Linked DNA regions of Homo sapiens: all the other regions are linked to region 3. The links are contacts of gene promoters, found by promoter capture Hi-C in blood cells and fetal thymus (Javierre and others, 2016). All regions are on one chromosome and are shown on one strand. The core of a region is centred on a gene start or on the middle of the fragment in contact, and the rest is flanking DNA. Distances in the headings are between cores, read along the strand shown.

Region 1 (4,693 bases), core at 2,194-4,693, 980 kb after region 3:
CACCCTCCAAATGCCAATCCTGCCAACCGTCCTGTCTCTACTGTCTCCCCTCCTTACCCTTGGTGCCTCATGCAGGGAACATCATCGGCTCTGGAATCTTTGTCTCGCCAAAGGGAGTGCTGGAGAATGCTGGTTCTGTGGGCCTTGCTCTCATCGTCTGGATTGTGACGGGCTTCATCACAGTTGTGGGAGCCCTCTGCTATGCTGAACTCGGGGTCACCATCCCCAAATCTGGAGGTGACTACTCCTATGTCAAGGACATCTTCGGAGGACTGGCTGGGTAAGAGGATCTGTGGAGACCTGAATGGTCTAGGGGAAAAGGAGGAAGACATTCAGAAGGAGGTCAGATTGGAAAAAGCCAAGGCCAGGGGTTTCCAGTCTCCAGTGTGCCACGGGGTGCTAGTGAATGGAATGTCTCTTCTGCTTTCCTGCCATGGTTGCTAGTGTAGCCTTGTATCCCCTTGAGGCTCCCGATAATGATGGAGGACCAGGTTTGTAGTTTTGACCTCTATGTTGATCTTAGTGGGAAGGAGTCTATGAGTGAGAGCAAACAGAACTGTGTAACAACACTGACCATAGATTCCCAGAGAAAGCACATCACAAAAACAACGCCCTTCTATCTTGACAAATGAGAGTGGCCAGCTAAGGTAGAGTGCACCCTCTTCTCACACTACCAAGGATAATGGCCTCCCTCTAGAGCTGGGCCCTAATCTTAAATTTCCTCAATTTCTGCATCCCTGCCATTGGTAAACCCTCACCAATGGGCCAAAAGGTGTGGAAGGCGCTTCCCCTGCAAACCCCCACTTGATACCTCTCCTGATTATTGCTTACGTAACCACACCCTTAGTATGTCCTGTCTATCAACATTCTGGGGTTGCAAATTTTGTTTTTCCACCATTGGATGCTGGTGGCCACAGTGATGGAGAAGAGATCATGAAAGGAGAGGAGAGAAAGGAAGAACGCCAAGACTTGTGTTAGTGCTTGTGGAAATTTAACTCTTCATTAAACCATTTTATTGTCACTGCAGAGGGCTGGGTGTCTCATTTGTGGGTGGGGGCAGAGGCTGGGCTCTTCAGCATCCTTGAAAATAAAAAAGAGATGCATGACTTGCCCGGGCTCTCCCCTGATGGCTCTGCGTCCCTGCCATGCCTTTCGGCGGATGTCCCTTTCCTCCTTCAGGTTCCTGAGGCTGTGGATTGCTGTGCTGGTGATCTACCCCACCAACCAGGCTGTCATCGCCCTCACCTTCTCCAACTACGTGCTGCAGCCGCTCTTCCCCACCTGCTTCCCCCCAGAGTCTGGCCTTCGGCTCCTGGCTGCCATCTGCTTATGTAAGTGTCATCTGGGTCTTGGTAGCAAGACAGCCTCTTTTATTATATTTATTATTATTATTTTTAGAAACAGAGTCTTCACTCTGTCACTCAGGCTGGAGCGCAGCCGCATGATCATAGCTCACTGCAGCCTTGAACTCCTGGGCTCAAGTGATCCTCCTGCCTCGGCCTCCCAAAGTGTTGTGGTTACAGGTGTGAGCCACTGCACCCAGTCTGAGGGACAGCCTCTTTTATCCTCCCTGGAGGTCTACATGTCTCTGACTCTCCTAACTTCTCTCCATTTTTTTTTTTTTGAGGCAGGGTCTCACTCTGTCACCCAGGCTGGAGTGCAGTGGCGTGATCTCCACTCACTGCAACCTCCATCTCCCAGATTCAAGTGATTCTCCCACCTCAGACTCCCGAGTTGCTGGGATTGCAGGCGTGAGCCACCATGCCCGGCTAATTTTTGTATTTTTTGTAGAGATGGGGTTTCACCCTGTTGGCCAGGCTGGTTTTGAACTCCTGACCTCAAGTGATCCGCCCGCCTTGGCCTCCCAAAGTGCTGGGATTACAGGCCTGACCCACCTCACCCTGCCTCCTTTTCTTTTCCCCATTACTTTTCTTTCAATTTCCTACAAGTGTGTTTTTTATGAATGGATTCTGCATACAATTGTCTGGTGTTAAAAAAAAAAAAAGAAAGAAACTTAAGTAGCTCCTTGGAGGCACTATGATTTTCACTGGCAGGGTTCTTGACATTACGCAAAGCACTTTCACCTATATTATCTGATTTGGGCCTAATGACAAGTCCATGAGGTAAGCTGGGCCAGTGTTAACATTTTCCCAGAACAGATAAGGAAACAGAGAGCCAGGCAAATGACTTGCCCAGGGAGGCAGGCCACGTGGAGTGCAAGGGCTCCTGATTTCTTGTCTGTCCAGTGCACTGCACTGTGCTGGCTACTCCCAGCTGCTCCTAGGAAGATTACTCTGGCTTCTTGGCAGTAGGTCCACATCTACTTCTACCTCAACTTGTCAAGTCACACTCTTTTAACTCTCTTGGAGAAGGGTTTGTCCATGATCCCTGCCCTTGATGAGTTTTCTAACTAGGAGAAAAGCCATATAGACAGATACTGTGGTTAGGATTCAATTGCAGTAAAAATTCAGAGAAGGGAGCTAGGCATGGTGGTGTACACCTGTAGTTCCAGCTACCTGGGAGGCTGAGGTAGGAGGGTCGATTGACCCTGGGAGTTCTGGGCCACAGTGAGCTATGATTACACCTATGAATAGCCACTGCACTCCAGCCTGGGCAACATAGTGAGATCCTGTCTCTAAAAAAAAAAAAGAAATTAAAAACAACAATAACAATAAAATTCAGAGAAGGGGAAAAGATCTCTGTGGGCTGGAATAGGTTAGAGAGGCTTCCTAGAGAAGTTCTGCAGAGCCGTATTTCTAGGAAGTCTCAAAGCTTTATCTCTGATATTAGTCATCTCAATGGATTGGGGTATTTTACATCTTTAATCAAAAACTAATTTCTAAAGTAAATACTTAGATATGTTTCAGGGGCTCCACCTCTAGGGTTCACTGGGTCCCTGCCTTCCCATAGCTTCTAACACACATACACTTAGCTGAGGGCAGTGATCATCCTGGCCATATGCTTTCCCAGGTCCTGACACTTTTCCTTCTGTCCTGTTACGGGATGGGGGAGGAAGAGATCACTCACCCACCTCAGTAGCCTCTTACAGGGCAGGCAGCTGGGACCCAAGAGGCGGTCTCCTTGGCAAGTGAGCCCTCTTTGGCAGTGCTGGTCAACCCTGGGACAGACCTCCACCACCCAGGCCATTTGCAATATGGGGCCAAGACATTTGTTTGGGGGTGTATTCCTTGTGTTTGATCAGGCCTGCTCACAGATCTGGAGGCAGAGGAATGCAGGCTCCAAAACCAGGCTGCCTGCGCCTGCATCTCCAGTCCACCATTTCTAACTGCAGTGGTGAGTGCTGGGCAAAATCACTCGTCCACCCTACTGTGAGATGGGGAGTGTAATCCTAGCTGCCTCAAGAGGTCGTGGTCACAAGGACTGCAAGAGAGAAGGAAGGGGACACCCTCAGCACAGTGTTAGACACCCAGCACCCCAGTCATATCAGTCACTGGGGGTGGGCAAGATGCTGGGGCCACTTTATCCTTGCATCCTAGCTGGATCCAGAGTTGAGATGGGGAGCGGGGAAGAGCGAGGGCGTGGGAATGCAGGAAGAGTGCTGTTTCTGCCATCAGATCAGCTAATGGGAGGGTGGGAGGCAAGGCCACAGAAGTGCTAGCTACTGCTGTTTTGGTGTTTCTTTGCACACAGACAGCTTCCTTTTTCCTGCTGATGCTGCTAAAGTGTCTCAGACAAGAGGCCACCCTTACCCTTCTACTAGAAATCAAGAACCCCCGAGGCTGTTCAGTTTGCACCCTAGGAGAGGAGCCAGGCCACAGGTTGAAGAAGTTCCCAGGCAGCCAGACCCCATGGCTTTCTTTGCATTCCCCAAATCTGCCAAGGGTTTGACCTCTTGCACAAAGACCCTCCAAAGTAGTGTAGCCTTTTTGGCGTCCCCTCGGACCAGAAAGGTCCAAACTCTCCTAGGAGATAAGAACGCCACCTGCCTGTAGCCCTGCTCCAGAATGACATGTTGCACAGTCCTCTCCACAGCCTTCCCCTCACCTAGACACTGCAAGGACCAAGCCAAGGAGAAATTTAGAAACTGGCTGATGACAAAAATGACAAGACCCCCCTCCTCTATTCCTGTAGTCAAAGATTCAATAAAGCTTATCTAAGTTTGGCCTCTGCCTTCTCAGCAGAACTGCAAGGAAATTATCTCCAACTTAACAGTAGCCAATCTTGTCCTCTAAAGACAGGAATTTTCAATGTCCTTGAAATATGGGTTCAAATATTTGTCTACCTTCATAAGCAGAAAAATCTTAAATCCTTCTTATTCCCAAGCGTAGTCTTCCTTATTTCCTTTAGGGGAAATGGAAACCAGCTCCACACCTGTCCCGCTGCAGTGTCCCTTTCCTCCTAGCTGTGAAGGCCATGTGGAGCTGCCATCCCTCTGCCCGGCAGGGTGCACACGTACATGCATTAGCTATAACAAACTTCCTCTCTCCCTTTCCTTATACCTGACACTCCCAGCTGCTTTGAGTCTGTGTACAGAGGTTCTGTTTTCCGGTTTGTTGAATACTTTTTTTTTTTAATCCACTTCTATAGGCCCCTCAAATCCTCTCTTCTTTTTTTGAATTTTATGGCAGGCCATACCAGATAAGCATCCAATCCTCTCATACGGTATTCAGTAAAACAAGAACCAAGCTGTCAGGAAGGCTTGGTAGATGCTTTTTTTTTTTTTTTTTTTAGA
Region 2 (4,973 bases), core at 1,978-4,477, 660 kb after region 3:
ATGAGGGCTGAGAAAGACAGAAAAGGTTTGGTTTCAGAAAGCACCCCTTTGGTGGGAGGCATCTAGGAAGCTTTGTGGCTCGAAGCCTCGGGGGGACTACAAAAGGAGGGTAAGAAGGAAGTCTGCCATCAGTGACAGATTACATAAGACTTGACTGAAGGAAACTAAGAAGGAGGGTGTGAAGCCAGATGAAGGTTTTCTGGTGTTAACAGCCACAGAGCTGAATGCAGTACAGAGAAGGGTCATTGTAACTAAGAGACAGGGTTTTCCTGGCTAGGAATTCTGATTTGATCTCTTTACCACCTAGGGCTTCCTGTAAGAGTCAGCAGTGAGTAAATCAAAATTGGGAGAGAGGAAATAGAAACTCAGGGGCTTTCTGTTCTCCAGAGCCCACCCGTGGGGCTAAACCCAAGGCTGGGAAATGAAACAAAGCAGTTCTCAGGGTAAGGTACCATTGGCTCAAAGTGGTACATACAAATGCTTTCTAAGCCTATTTTCTATTCTAAGCTTTAACTAACAATAAAAATTATAAGAAAATGTATTAATATAGTCACAATGGTAGTTTTACACTAGAACAAAATGATGTAAGATTTAGAGTTATCAGCACTAGTGGAAGGGGGTGGTCCATAGAACCTTTTGTTATTTAAGTGATCCTGGGACTGAAGAGTTTGCTGCGGAAGATCAGCACAGAGAGAATGGAGCGTCCAGAGTTCCAGCATCCACCACCAAGTGCCATCCAGCTCCAAGGTATTTAGCAGAAGGGGTATACTAGCCAGCAGTTAAGGTCAAATTAAATCTGGAATGGGAATTCATTCCCTGCCTTGGTACTCTGGAGGCCCCTGTAGTAGGCTAGCCTGTGTAAGGCCTGCGGAAATGCTAATACCATCCCAGCAAGCTAGATTCCTCAACCAGCCAGCCAAGCCCACATGCCCTGGCTGTCTTGCTGCTGATGCTGTCTCAGCATCAGGCCAACCAAGGCCAGCTTTTGACACAAAACCTGGCCACGTTGCTGCCTTCAAGGCTGCCAGTGGCTCTGGGGATGAATTGGAGACATTGGTTTCTAAGGGGTAGTAAAGGAAAAGTCAGACCTGGATGTGAGAGAAAACAAATTCTAATACCAGCTCTGCTAATGACTTATTTGAATAGGCTTAGATAAATCATTTCCCCCATAGGGCCTGTAAGCAAAAGAAAACAAAAATCAAACAATTTTAGCTACAGCAATGTAAGTATCTACAAAGAAAAATAGTTAAAACTCAATTTACTGCTCTCCCAAAGGATGCTAAAGCAGCTAAGTCTCTACCATTCACTGCAACAAATATTTATTGGATCTTGCTTTTTAAAAGAGGGACCTAAACAGAGATCACTGTCTACATTACATGAAACCATGACCCTAACTACAGTCCCCTGAATACAGCAAGAAAGATCTCTAAGAAAGGAAACAGGAAAATCAGCTGAGGAAATGAAGAGGCCACCAGCCTCTGCCTCCACCAACTCATGTATGCACCTTAGGAAGGCAGGAGAGGTAGGCAAGAAGACAGGGCTCCACAGGCACTTCCATGGCCCAGACAGTAAGGTGAGGGGTTGGTGTTCTAGTCCCTGCTTTTCACTGTGGCTCTGGCAAACTCTGCCTCTCCCCATAGTCCAGGAGTCAGTCTTGACTTACACATGCTGAGGAAATGGAAGCCAGCCATTCTAGGACTGCCACTTAAGCTAAGGAAGATCTCCTCCCACCAGGGAATCAAGGAAAGAGGTCCATATTGTGGCCTATTCCTAGTATATACAGAAGTCAGACTCAGCACTACCATCCAGGGAGTAACTGGATGCTACTAATTCATAAAGAATAATCCAATAAGAGAAAAATTAGCCATCCTAGAAATTGGATAACTTTACAATAAAAAACACTGCTGAATTAGCTGGTTGTGGGGTACTGGTCTCACAATGAAAGGTCTCCAAAATAAAGTTAAGAAGCGAGATGAGGCAAGAGCTAACAGTCTAAAGAGTTTGGGCATATTCTGGAAAGGCTAAGCAATACAGGGCACTGTGGGCTGAATGGGGCAACCAGGTAAATTCAGCTGTGATAAAGGAACAACATGGAATGACAAAAAAAGGAGGCAGACTACAAGAGTGAGCCAAGGTCCTGCAGCCAGAATTGTGCTCAGCAGTGACCAGAGAGCCAGGATGTCCATCACATAAGTGTCACAACTGTCCTGGAAAGAACCTTCTGAGGACACAAAAGATCAGTAACAGGACATCTCCTCCAGTCTTCAAAACACAGGATAACGAAAGTAGAGGTATCCTTAGCAATCTAATCCAAAAGTTTCTGGATGAGCCATTATTATCTGAATTCTTGCTATTCCCTAGCTCCCATTTTCCCAGCATGTAGAACCCAAATCTGTAGATTCAGATAACACAGGATCGATCGCTTGCCAAGTGAACTCTCCTTATCCAAATCCAGGAACTGAATAGATGCAGACAGCAAAGGATATCTTCTGTCTCCCATCATGTTTCCCCTGTAGAGCCTCGTCATTCTCCCACCTACTCTTCGGTACTGACCCCTCAGTTCTCCTCACCCTGTTCTCTTCTAAGCCACCCTCATCTACAGCCCCCTTTCATTGGGAGAGTCATCTGTAAGATGTCAGGGGTAGAACAGATAACGAAAAAGGGAGTAGGGAAGAGTGTAGATTTCAGGTAGGGAAGTGAGATGGAGATCCTGCAGACAGAGAAAGAGAGAGACAGAAAGCAAGAGAGCCGGAGCTGGGGGAGGGGAAGAAGATGGCACTGCGGAAAAAAGAGCGCCACAAAATTAATTTGAGGAAGGGAACAGTAGAGGAGACGTTGGTGGAATAACAATCAGGCAGTAGAGGGCTGGGGAAAGGGGGAGGGCGACAGGGTGGGGAGGAATGATGTTGGCCGGGAGGGCCCTGCCTGCAGAGCAACAGCAGCACCACCTATGGGTATGGTGAAGGGCTACAGGCTGCAACAAAAGAGGTTCCCGCCTAGGCATGGGAGTCTGGGGTGCAGGTGGGGAGGAAGAAGCCATGGCTTTTGCCATTCAAATCTCTTGGTTACACAACATGCAGGCTAGAAGAATAAATAGTATATGGCTTTCCTGGGAAGAGAGGGACTTAAGGTAAGGGAGGGAAGACAGAGAACTCCTGGCTTTTTCCATTACAAGGGGGTTTCCCCTTCAGAATTCAGGCAGTAGAAAAGAGAAGAATATGAAGAGGGAGGAACACCAGGTACTGAAAGGAATGTGAGCACCTGCTTATTTCATTACCTGGAGAAAGGATTTTTATCTTTATTTCCAAGTGATTTCCTCTCCCCACTGGATATAAGAGAATACAGCTGCCTCCCTGGGGCCATGAATGCCCCTCACTCAGCTGCTTCCTCCCAGCACTGCCTCAAAACTCCCAACCACCATTAGAAACCCCCAGGGAGCCACCAAGGTCTAAGAAGGAAAGAAGGGAAGGGTTCCCCCCACCAAACAGACCAAGTGGGGGAGGACAGGGTGGAATGAAAGAGAGAATGCAAAAGCTCTGCAGAGGGAGGGGAGAGAGAAATGTGATCAGTAGTATTTGTTGTGCTTCCAGGGAGGAAGGATCTGTCACATTTTTAATAATAATAAATACATGAAGACAGATTTGCCAGCACTGCTCTGGCTTCTTGGGAAGTGTGGGGGAGGGGAAGTAATGCAGCTGCAGCACACACCAATATCTCCCCCTCCCCTCCCCCATTAGATAGGCTCAGTATTGCAGCAGCCTCCCCCTCCCCCTCTAACCGCAGTCCTCCCCTTCACAGCCCACCCTTTCCACGGTCCCGTCACACAGTTCTGCCCCTCCTTCCCCTACTTGTATCTCTACTCACTCCAACCCCACTCTGTCCTTTCAGTGCTGGTCCTCATTTAACACATGCTTACTCTAGCTGGAAGAAACCTTAGCACCTACATCTTAGATGAATGAATCTGTTCCCCCAATCCTGAGGCTCTGCTGTTTCCAATCAGTGCCCTTCACTAGCTGACAGCAATCTTCCCCTACACCCCACACAACACTCCCACAGATGTAATCCAGCACATTTCAGCATTTCCTGGATTCCACCAAAAAGGATTGCTTTTCTCCCCGTTTTAATCTCAATGTGACCTCCTTTCTCACATCCTTCCTTAAATATAATGGCCATCAAATGTGTTTGTGTTTAGGGGGTGTCAGGGCCTCAGGACTCAGTGACTACTGCCACCTATTGACCCAAGTTTGTTCACGATAGACCTTTAATACACTTCTTACACAGCGACGCTCTGTCATCTCAAAAGCATCAATAGCTTAAACATGCAAAGGCATGGCTCTGGGGGCTTCTCTGAGACCCTCTGAACAATGAGATCAAAGAAACACAAAAGCAAGACTGGGCAGAGAGCCAGAGCATTGATGCCTTTCCTCATGCAGAGGCAGAAAACGAGGCCCAAGGAATGAAAAAGCAACTTTAAGTCCCCTCAAGGTTCTCTAAGCAAAGATGAGTAGGGAACAGAGTTTTTCTTAAGGGCTGGTAAAAATTTCATGTATCATAATATAAATGATAAATGATGTTACCAATGGAGCAGGAGGCAGGATTCCACTCACATACCTCCATCAAGTTAGCCAAATCCTTGGCATGAATCTGGGATTTATGGACCTAAAAGATTCCAGGGAGGATGGGGGACACTCAGGGGTGTGTTTGACTCTCATCCAATCTGTACCAATCAGAACTGGAGACTGGACAAACTGGGCTCTGAAAAAGGGCAGGTCTACACCACGCAGCTCTATGGTTTAGCTGTGTCCCATTCACCAAACCAAGGAATGAGGAGCGTTTGAACTCTCCATGGTGCTGAAAATTGACACACTAATAATCTCCCCTGCAAACAAAACACAGTTTTCCTAATAAGGTATCTATGAAGACTGTTGTGAATTCCCAATAGACATTTCCCCAAGCCTTCATAAAATCCTAAC
Region 3 (5,104 bases), core at 1-2,500:
GCGGCGTCCAGCTGCAGGTAGCGGGCGGCTAGCGGCAGAGAGCTGGCTAGTAGCGGCCGGAGCTGCTCCAGGGAAAACGCCTGCCCGGAATCCCTCCTCAGGGCGCTCGCCAGCTCCTCGCGGGCCACCAGGAAGGCCCGCTCCTCTTCCTCCCCCGGCATCCTGAGGCAGGAGTCAGCCCCAGCCTCGCCGCCCGCCAGGACCCGGCGCGGGCAGCGCGCGGCCCGAGCGCCGCCCCTCCCGTCTGGTGCCCGGCTTTGAGGCCCACCCCGGCCCACGCAGCCGCCCCAGGTCACTCAGACCACGGTCACTCTCCAGCCCCCGGCCCAGCGCCAGGGTTAGCCGAGAACAGGAAGTACTAGGAGAGAGGGTGGGACTGCGACCCAATTTCGGAGGAACGGGCGGGGCTTAAGGTTAAGGTTGGAGCGGTGTCAGGAAACCAGGGGGCGCGGCCAAGAGGGAGGGCCAGGTCCCAACCAATGAGAAGGCAAATGGCTCCTGGCTCCTCCCTCAGAGCGCGCCAGCATCTTCCCTCAGTCAAGCGCTCTTCCCCGCCTTCCCCCAATCTGGTTCCACCCCTTCCGGATAGCCGCAGGCGCGGGGTTATCCTATTCAGCTCAAAACCTTTCTTTTTCTAGCTGGACCAGTCCGGTACGCTCCGGGCCTCACCGAGGAAGTCCCACCCTGCAGGGGAACCGACTCTGGCCGGCCCTAACCCCTCTCGAGCGAGTCCCGCCCCATCTCCGGTCTGTCCTGAAGGCAGAGGGAAGACCCTCACCCAACCCCTGCCCGCTCTCTTCTAAGAGCTGCTAGTCCTTCTCCACCCCAGGCGCTCCCTCTGGCTGCCCCTCCCACTCGCTCTGATCTCTCTCCGTCCGCTACTTGCGGTCGAGCCTTCTTGGGGGAGCCCCGCCACTGAATACCCCCTTTGCCATACTCCCACCTCTCTTACCCCAACCCTGGACTTCCAGTTGGCCCTAGCTATAAGCCCCGCCCCTCTCCGAGGGACAGCCCCCGCTCCAGTCTCCGCGGTCCCACTTACCCTAGCCCCTCCCTCGGGCAGCCCCTGGACTGTGACCCAGCCAGCACCGCCTCTCCTAGTGGCAACTGGCTGGGAATGGCTGAGGGGCTACCTACTGCTTGCGGCCTGCCAGCGGGAGGAGGGGGGCGGAAAGAAGAAAGGGGGCGGGGTTGAGGGGGGCGGGCCTGGACCTGGGGAGTGAAAGCGAAAGCCCGGGCGACTAGCCGGGAGACCAGAGATCTAGCGACTGAAGCAGCATGGCCAAGCCGTGTGGGGTGCGCCTGAGCGGGGAAGCCCGCAAACAGGTAATGGGGAATCGGAGGCCAGGAAGGGGTCATAGAACCCTCTTGGGTGGAGGCCAAGCTGGGTGGTTCAGGGGACCAAGCAGTGCCAGAGAACTCCCCCAATCTCGCTAGTGCCTTCACTTCTCGGGGATTCCCAGATTCCTGCCTTCTGACTGCAGTGAGCAGGAGCTTCCAGGGAAAGCTAGTTTGTGGTGAGAAAGGCCTGAGCCACAGTTCGAGGGCACCCTGTTGTGGGTGGAAGCTTTTGACAACCCAGACCCTTAACCAACATCCGGGTACTGCTCTCTGTGTAGGTGGAGGTCTTCAGACAGAATCTTTTCCAGGAGGTAAGTCTCTGGATTTGAGCGATTTGACCCAGAATCTTGGACCAATACTTGAGGATAACAGCCTCTCAGAATGACCCCCCCAAGTCACCCTAGACTTAACCCTACTTCCCTTACCAAGCCTTCACCCAAAGTAACCCCGGAATTATTGATAGCTACCTTTAATCTGACCTTTCTTATGACTCTCCCGACTTCTGGCACTTCTCCCGTCTTTTGATGTGGAGGAAAAAAACCATGGCTTCCAAAGCAGGAATATCACAGTCCTAACCTTCGTTCTGCCATTTACCAGCTTGGGCAAGTCCTTTCATTTTCAGGTCTTCAGTTTCCTCATTTGCAAGTCTTGGACCCAGTGATTTCCAAAGGCCCTTCCAGTTCCATTTGTCAGACATCTCATTGAGCATATTCTGTGATTCCCCTCCCTTGCAATGTAACCCACAGGCTGAGGAATTCCTCTACAGATTCTTGCCACAGAAAATCATATACCTGAATCAGCTCTTGCAAGTGAGTAGTGTGGGCCCCTTCTGCCCCATCCTATGTCCTCTATCCCCTTTGCCCACCCTCTCTAGCTAACAACTGGATTCAGCATGCAGAGAATAGTTTCAAATAGTGGATTAGGAACATTAGGATGGCGTGAGGCATGAGCCTAGGTTGGGAGGCAGAGTGCAAGTGGGATGTATGGAGGGAAGGCTGTGACCTAGGATGAAGGGAAGAGGTTGGGCAGCCCTTGACAGTGAGCTCTGTGCAGGAGGACTCCCTCAATGTGGCTGACTTGACTTCCCTCCGGGCCCCACTGGACATCCCCATCCCAGACCCTCCACCCAAGGATGATGAGGTGAGGCACTCAGGGTGCAGGACTTGGACTATAAACCCAATGGAGAAGATAGCCCTTCAACCTCTGTGACTTTTCTAAAGCTACTTTCCCCCCTTTTTGCCTTAGATGGAAACAGATAAGCAGGAGAAGAAAGAAGGTAAGAGAGATAAGAGGTGACTAGGGAAGGGGTGATGGCACACTGACTACTGGATGAGAAAGGGCCTGAATCCCCTCTTTCTCACAGTCCATAAGTGTGGATTTCTCCCTGGGAATGAGAAAGTCCTGTCCCTGCTTGCCCTGGTTAAGCCAGAAGTCTGGACTCTCAAAGAGAAATGCATTCTGGTAAGCCTGGGAAATGGGGGAAGCAGAAAGAGAAGACACACAAGGTGAGGCCCTGGACTCCTCCGTAGATACAAGTCCTTCATACAGAGACCTAGTCCTGAAAAAGAAAACTTCCTTCTGTGCCTTGGGCTTAGATCCCCTTTGTTCTCCTCGTTCTGTTAGACCTCTCTTATCACAACGGTACCCCCAAAATTAGAGACTGTGCAGTATCCACTCTGTAACCTCAGAACCTACTGCTGTATTGGGTTCATAGTAGAGGTGGTATGATATAGTGAGTGAATTGTTTTAAAAGATTGGACCCTAGAGAGAGACTGCTTAGGTTCAAATCGTGATTCTATCAGTTACCTAGCTGGTAGCCTTAAGTAAGTCACTTAGACATTCTGTGACTCAGTTTTTTCATCTGTTAAATGGGTACAATAAATACATATCTCTGAAGGTTGCTGTGATGATTACATGAAATAAATACATGGCACAGTACCTGGTATGTAATAAGTACCCAATTAAATATAACTTTTTTTAGGAAGTGACAGTAATAGGAAGAACTCAGTATGTTTGTTGAATGATTCTTACATGATACCTCTTAACACAGGTGATTACATGGATCCAACACCTGATCCCCAAGATTGAAGATGGAAATGATTTTGGGGTAGCAATCCAGGTAAGAAAAGGGTAACTGAAGATACTTAGAGTGGGGAGAGCCTCAGGGGGTGAGCTAGACATGAACCAGGAGGAGGAGGAAGATAGTGTATGAAATGGGGAGGACATGAAGTGTTGTCTTTGCCTCCCGTGTCACCACAGGAGAAGGTGCTGGAGAGGGTGAATGCCGTCAAGACCAAAGTGGAAGCTTTCCAGACAACCATTTCCAAGTGAGGGCAGCTGGAGGACCAGCATTGGGGGCAGTAGGAGCATTTCTTTGGGACCCCCAGAGCTGGGCAGCCCTATCAGGATGATGGGAGACTTTGGGAAGGGTCTGAGGGAGTACATCTCCCTGAACACTCATTCCTGTGGTATTCCCTTGCTTCTGGCAGGTACTTCTCAGAACGTGGGGATGCTGTGGCCAAGGCCTCCAAGGAGACTCATGTAGTGAGTGGATAGTCCACCAGCCTTTTAGCTGGGTGTGGGACGAGGAGGTGTGGAGGAAGAAGTCCTCCTTGTCTTGTTTGTGACTTTCCCAATGTGGAGAATATTAAGCTAAAAGCATTACCTAGAAAAACTGGTTTGGGCTTCAACAACCTTGACCCTTTTCTCTGCTCAGTCCTTTGGGATCCTATTTCTTGGTGCTAAGAAGGGGTTCATTCTCAAGTTAACCTATTTCCTATAAAAGGAAACCAGACTCATGTCCCAGCCTCCCATGGGACTGACTCAGCTTTGCCTCCCACATTGCAGATGGATTACCGGGCCTTGGTGCATGAGCGAGATGAGGCAGCCTATGGGGAGCTCAGGGCCATGGTGCTGGACCTGAGGGCCTTCTATGTGAGTGTGGAGTAAGGCTTTAGGGGAGGTGGATGAGTGGGGGCAGGCAGGGGATTGGCTAAGAACCTGACTCTTGCACTCTGGCCTTCTCCCAGGCTGAGCTTTATCATATCATCAGCAGCAACCTGGAGAAAATTGTCAACCCAAAGGGTGAAGAAAAGCCATCTATGTACTGAACCCGGGACTAGAAGGAAAATAAATGATCTATATGTTGTGTGGATTCCCTTCTGGCGTGTGTCATTCATTCAAAAAGCATTTATTGAGTGGCACCTATGTCCAGCCTGAAGATGAATGTGGTGGGAAGGGGTGGGTGTCACAAAGACAAAGATGACTTAGATGCCCACTGTAATCTTGACTGTGAGAAAGAGGGGATTCAGGCCCTTTCTCATCCAGTAGTCAATGTGCCATCTCCCCTTCCCTAGTCACCTCTTATCTCACTTACCTTCTTTCTTCTCCTGCTTATCTGTTTCCATCTAAGGCAAAAAGGGGGGAAAGTAGCTTTAGAAAAGTCACAGAGGTTGAAGGGCTATCTTCTCCATTGGGTTTATAGTCCAAGTCCTTCACCCTGAGTGCCTAGGGTGGGGATTGTTACATGCCATGGCAGCCATGCAGATAACCTGTATTTTGGAATGTAACAGTATTATTTTCATCCAGAGGTCTCAGGAATTATTGGAAGAGATGGCATTTGCACAGAGCCCTTATGGGAATAATCAGGCTTTGGATACACAAGGGGAAAGTTCTGTGGTCAACATCAGGAATGAAGAAAGAAAGAATCCTCATCAGTTCAGGAAAAGCCTAGAAGGAGAATAAGGTTTCACTGGGAGAACTA

The links. Contacts are between HindIII fragments. The CHiCAGO score rates a contact against its expected background, and 5 or more counts as called.
Region 1: a contact is called between a fragment that was not itself captured here and the fragment with the promoter of PSME2 in region 3, in 1 of 17 cell types (M0 macrophages). The highest score is 5.0, in M0 macrophages.
Region 2: a contact is called between a fragment that was not itself captured here and the fragment with the promoter of PSME2 in region 3, in 1 of 17 cell types (naive CD8 T cells). The highest score is 6.1, in naive CD8 T cells.

Annotation. Positions count from the first base shown.
Region 1 is chr14:23,161,923-23,166,615 of GRCh38, reverse strand. SLC7A8 (solute carrier family 7 member 8) reads left to right here. Exons shown (of 11, transcript NM_012244.4): 2 at 76-280; 3 at 1,180-1,331. Among named protein-coding and RNA genes, the nearest start is that of SLC7A8, 19 kb to the left of the region's middle. The HindIII fragment of the contact is 1,337 bases long and covers 2,775-4,111 here.
Region 2 is chr14:23,481,420-23,486,392 of GRCh38, reverse strand. No RefSeq gene overlaps it. Among named protein-coding and RNA genes, the nearest start is that of NGDN, 14 kb to the right of the region's middle. RefSeq lists enhancers at 2,808-3,564, 3,565-4,322. The HindIII fragment of the contact is 5,436 bases long and covers 510-4,973 here.
Region 3 is chr14:24,142,756-24,147,859 of GRCh38, reverse strand. PSME2 (proteasome activator subunit 2) reads left to right here and starts at 1,250. Exons shown (of 11, transcript NM_002818.3): 1 at 1,250-1,326; 2 at 1,620-1,652; 3 at 2,088-2,150; 4 at 2,395-2,481; 5 at 2,587-2,617; 6 at 2,705-2,802; 7 at 3,392-3,460; 8 at 3,601-3,668; 9 at 3,831-3,885; 10 at 4,189-4,275; 11 at 4,371-4,495. The coding sequence starts at 1,279. The coding sequence ends at 4,451. RNF31 (ring finger protein 31) reads right to left here and starts at 362. Exons shown (of 21, transcript NM_017999.5): 1 at 1-362. The coding sequence starts at 161. It overlaps MIR7703 (microRNA 7703), which reads left to right and starts at 4,295; the gene lies at 4,295-4,371. RefSeq lists silencers at 95-324, 355-444, 1,145-1,204 and enhancers at 286-580, 127-627, 765-834. The HindIII fragment of the contact is 5,988 bases long and covers 1-1,569 here.